2 separate regions of the Homo sapiens genome follow, and region 2 is linked to region 1. Evidence: promoter capture Hi-C in 16 types of primary human blood cells and fetal thymus (Javierre and others, 2016). All regions are on one chromosome and are shown on one strand. Each heading gives the region's core, a stretch centred on a gene start or on the middle of the fragment in contact. The rest is flanking DNA. Distances are from core to core; before and after follow the strand shown.

What was found. The method cuts DNA at HindIII sites, captures the fragments that hold promoters and counts their contacts. A CHiCAGO score of 5 or more calls a contact.
Region 2: a fragment that was not itself captured here is called in contact with the fragment with the promoter of MAP3K7 in region 1 in 1 of 17 cell types (non-activated CD4 T cells); the score reaches 7.3 in non-activated CD4 T cells.

What each region holds. Positions count from the first base shown.
Region 1 is chr6:90,585,774-90,588,369 of GRCh38, forward strand. MAP3K7 (mitogen-activated protein kinase kinase kinase 7) reads right to left here and starts at 1,299. Exons shown (of 17, transcript NM_145331.3): 1 at 991-1,299. The coding sequence starts at 1,110. LOC124901363 (a long non-coding RNA gene) reads left to right here and starts at 1,021. Exons shown (of 2, transcript XR_007059680.1): 1 at 1,021-2,182. RefSeq lists silencers at 1,119-1,238, 1,235-1,431. The HindIII fragment of the contact is 2,842 bases long and covers 1-1,730 here.
Region 2 is chr6:83,195,405-83,198,000 of GRCh38, forward strand. RWDD2A (RWD domain containing 2A) reads left to right here. Exons shown (of 3, transcript NM_033411.5): 3 at 191-2,596. The coding sequence ends at 868. Among named protein-coding and RNA genes, the nearest start is that of RWDD2A, 3.3 kb to the left of the region's middle. The HindIII fragment of the contact is 1,829 bases long and covers 405-2,233 here.

The sequences.
Region 1 (2,596 bases), core at 49-2,548:
ATTCTGATTGTCACCGAAATCATTCGTTATCTCTTCAGAATATGCTACTTGAAACATCTTTTGATCGTAGACCAGTCTATGTTACTTATGGTGAAATTCACCTACATTAGCCCAACTGAAAGCCGAGCATTTAAACATTACGAGTATTGCTGTGCGGTATCGGAGAAATTGAGAACCATTCGGTGCTAAGGGAAACACTTTATTAGACTTGATGATCTACTAATTTAACAAGCATTTATTGAGCATCCCCTACATGCCAGGTACTGAAGTAGAAGTCGAATATAATACAATCTTTGGCCATTAAGAACATTACGTCCGGCCGGGCCCGGTGGCTCACGCCTGTAATCCCAGCACTTTGGGAGGCCGAGGCGGGTGGATCATGAGGTCAGGAGATCGAGACCATCCTGGCTAACAAGGTGAAACCCCGTCTCTACTAAAAATACAAAAAATTAGCCAGGCGCGGTGGCGGGCGCCTGTAGTCCCAGCTACTCGGGAGGCTGAGGCAGGAGAATGGCGTGAACCCGGGAAGCGGAGCTTGCAGTGAGCCGAGATTGCGCCACTGCAGTCCGCAGTCCGGCCTGGGCGACAGAGCGAGACTCCGTCTCAAAAAAAAAAAAAAAAAAAAAAGAACATTACGTCCAGCGGACTGAAACTCCAGAACGGCTACGATCTTCGCTGAAACTACTACTTACAGATACGAGAACTGGTGGACCACACTATCTCACCAGTTCATTCTCCTGTTTATCACCGGAATATCAAATCCAAAATCAAGAGTACCCAAGAGAGGAAAAAAGGCAGCTACTCCCGAGCAGTTGAGCTCAGAGAGTAACCCCCACTCCCACGTTACTGAGGGCTGTGGGGTCTCCCGGGTGGACCCCGCAGGGTCCCGCGAATTAGAGGGGCCCCGGGAGGCACCTTCAGAGCCGGCACCAGGCAGAGGCGGGGGCGGGGCAGGCCGGGACCGGCGTCTCCATGCCGGGCCTCGCTCACCTCTTCCACCTCGATCTCCTTGTAGTCGATCTCTTCAAAGTTGAGGACCTGGGAAGGGGCTTCGATCATCTCACCGGCCGAAGACGAGGAGGAGGAGGAGGCGGCAGAGGCTGTAGACATGATCCCTCGCGGCGCCCGGTGGGGCCGGGAACGGTGCCACCCGGACAATCCGGGTGAGACCCGCGCCCACCCGCCTCCGGACCGACCCTCAGCCTGGAGCCGCGCAGTCCTACTACCCGGCGATCCGTGGCGGGGGTAGAGGCAGCGGCCACAGCCGTGTCCGGCTCTGGCTCCGCTGCGTTTTCCGCCGACGGGCCCCGCCCACTACACTTCCGGTTCCGGGCTGAAATCGGAAACAGGAGGAGGGCCGTAAACTCCGGGGTAGGGGAGGGGAGAATTTTGTGACTTGGAAAGAAAAGGAGGGACAGGTTGGGGGTGGGGTGGAGTAAGCTAAGAAGCAAACTTGGACCTCTAGAACAAATTTCGCGAGACCTTTATTACAGGGCCTCAGCAACCGGATGATACCGCGAGAGAGGACGCCTGACGTAATTAAAGTGCGCGAACGGAAGTGGCGCGGAACATGACGGAAAATCAGTACGGTTGGTCCCTTAAGGACCAGCGGGAAAGATAAAAGCTGGGGTTTAGTCTGTGCTGCGTGAAATATGTCTTGGCCTCACTTCCTGTCCTCTGAGCTGCCTGCAGCCGGGCGAGGTGGTGTTGAACTGTGTTTTTTGTGACGAAGCTTACTTTTAAGTTTCATCCCTAAACTAAGTTGACCTGTTTCTTTAAGACGGCTTGCAAAATGTGTTTTCCTCAATGTGGGATATGGAAAGAAGCAGTTGCTCCTGTTATTTTGAGCTAGTACCTGACGCTATGAGAAATTCTAAAAGAGCGAATCAGATCATGCAACATGAATAACTATGGAGGCTGAGTGATCAAGAACAGAAGTTAATATTTTGGTGTTACAAACTTTCCACGGATTAGGTGAATAAGATATTTATAATTTGGTGTGTTCATCTCAAGTTATGGATTACGAGTGCGGGGCACTAGTGCTTTAGATTGGTAAATGAATCATCAACAGTCGCCTTGAAAATCGAATATTTTTGTCACCATTTTCAGGACATGAGAAAACACGCTGAGAGTTTAAAGCAATTATGGTCCTCACAAACTAGATCATTCTGTCCCCAAGATGGTCAGTATTGCTCATGTTGTACTACCAGCACAAGTTTTAGTTTTAAACTAACTGTTGAATTTTATATAGTCCGTTTGACATAAAGCCTAACTGTGGAATTATGTTAAACACATTTGGGATTGCAAATAGATCATTGGATTTGACCATCAAGAAGTTACAAACTCCTGGGAAACATTCTGTCACTTTTTATTCGTAGTTCTAGTGACACGCAGTGACAGTTTGATGAGTGGATAAAAAAATGAAAGAAACGATAATTTCTTTTCACTGTACACTCTCTCTTTGCATGCTCTTACCCAAGGTCTCTGTTTCTCATACTATTTTTATAATGATGACTCCTAATCTCCAAATACTCAAGATTTTTCCTGAATTCTGGACCTATTGGTCATCTCTACTTAGACAAACACCTAAACTTCA
Region 2 (2,596 bases), core at 69-2,568, 7.4 Mb before region 1:
ACAAGGGCACCTGGCACACGTAGTTGTTCAATAAATATTGAAATAATGCATAAAAGGAAGCAATCATGTATGTAAAGTACCTGGTACATTTAATAGTAGCAATAACATTTCTCAAAATCATGCAGTTGCTATTGATAAACTAGCTTATGTGATGTTATGGTATTTAAATCTATTTGATTTTCATTTTAAGGTGAAAATTGATTTGCAAGTGACCATGCCTCACAGCTACCCCTATGTAGCATTGCAGCTGTTTGGACGGTCATCTGAACTTGACAGACATCAGCAGCTACTTCTCAACAAAGGTCTCACTTCTTACATAGGGACTTTTGATCCAGGTGAGCTCTGTGTATGTGCAGCAATCCAGTGGCTACAGGACAACAGTGCATCTTATTTCCTGAACAGAAAGCTTGTATATGAACCATCTACACAAGCAAAGCCAGTCAAGAACACATTCCTCCGAATGTGGATCTACAGTCACCATATATATCAGCAGGACCTAAGGAAAAAGATTTTGGATGTTGGGAAAAGGTTAGATGTGACTGGATTTTGCATGACAGGAAAGCCTGGTATAATCTGTGTGGAGGGTTTCAAAGAGCACTGTGAGGAGTTCTGGCACACAATTAGGTACCCCAATTGGAAGCACATTTCCTGTAAGCATGCTGAAAGCGTGGAGACAGAAGGAAATGGTGAGGACCTGCGCCTTTTCCATTCTTTTGAAGAGTTACTCCTTGAGGCTCATGGTGACTATGGATTAAGGAATGACTATCACATGAATCTGGGCCAATTCTTAGAATTTCTCAAGAAGCACAAAAGTGAGCATGTTTTTCAGATACTATTTGGTATTGAAAGCAAAAGTTCAGACTCATAAAAAGCGATTAAGAGGCCTATGCCTGTAATTTCACTAAGTCAGTATTTCTGTTAATAAGACCAAATTAAAAAGGCTAGTGGCTGTGTAGCATCCTCAGTGCAAAACCCAGCTCCAGAATTTTCACCTGGTAACGAATTTCAACTGACAGTGAAATGAATAGGCCTTTAAACTTTATAACATTGCAATTGTGATGTTATCTCTAGGTTTTTGTGTGAAGTCATTCAAAAACTATTTCATTGTAAATTAATAAAAACAATCCATTTAACTTGTGAAGCTGATTTGATTGAAGAGGAATCCAAAGCCCATAACTAACATCAAAAATCAAACTGCAATTATGAATTGAGAAATATGAATAGCATTTGTTTCACATTGCTAGCACACATGTGACACACCCACTTGTCTTTCATTATTGGAAATCTAAATCAAGTTTAAAATGAGAACAGGAAGGACATGTTTACTTCCTTTTTTGAGACGGTGCGATCTCGGCTCACTGCATCCTCAGCTTCCCAGGTTCAAGCGATTCTCCTGCCTCAGCCTCCCAAGTAGCTGGGACTACAGGCGTGCGCCACCACGCCCAGCTAATTGTTATATTTTTAGTAGAGACAGGGTTTCATCATGTTGGCTAGGATGGTCTCAATCTCTTAACCTCGTGATCTGCCTGCCTCGGCCTTCCAAAGTGCTGGGATTACAGGTGTGAGCCACCGCGCCCAGCCCGTTTACTTCATTTCTTACTTTAAACTCCTATTTCGAGTGTTTTAGTAAAACTAGATCCTAATAGCAGTGGCAAAGGACTCATAGACATGAAGTCCCACGAGTTAAAAGATGACACACAATGCTATGTGTTCTGGCTGTTTATATCAGTTCATGATACTAGCAATCCTGATACCAGTATTAGTTTAATTCTTATCCAGAAAAGATAAACACATGGTTCCTTGTCTACAAAGTATTCGCCTGTTTCAATCCAACCTTTGCCTGTGTGCCAGTATGCATTACTATAAAGGGCAAGAGACTGTTGAGGGGACCAGTGTGGATATCTGCATCATTACCTTATTGGGAAAAAAAAAATCTAATTCTACAGTCCGATGATGTTACTGCCATCTCCTCTGAAAATTCCAAGCTCCACAGGCTTCACCAGGCTTTTCAAAATGAGAGTTTATTTTAATGATTAAAAACCGCTATTTAAGTAGCTCTTGCCAAGCCTTTTCATTACCAGGTCTCCATCCCTCCCCAAGTATTTCTGCGAGTCTCATGTGCTAAGAGATGTCTTGAGCAGCCTCTGCAGCTTTCCGTGTTTCTGTGGTCAGCTACTGCTGCCCTTTCCCGGGAGGCATTCCATTCTCCTACTGGGTCCTCTCAAGATGCCAAAGCTTGGTGCTGGGATTTAGGAACACATCCTGTTAGATGTCAGACAGTGCTGCTTGTGCTGGGGAGCCTACAGAACTTCTGATGAAACTACCATCTGGTTTTACCCTCTGTGCCGTGGATGCAGACGTGTCCTTGGGCTACAGAGAGGACATGATGGAGCAGGAGGCCCTATCCCAAGGAGGTGTTAGAACTGGGTCCACTTTGTACTGCCTCTTTCTTCTTAGGTCACAATGAGTGTCCTCTCAGGGCACAACTCAGATCTTCAACCCATGGCTCGCTGTAGGCCTGCCCCGCCAGGTCCTCCAGCTTGCCATTCATGTTTCCATCCTAGCCTTGGTTGTGCTGGAACTCAGGCTGGAGCCT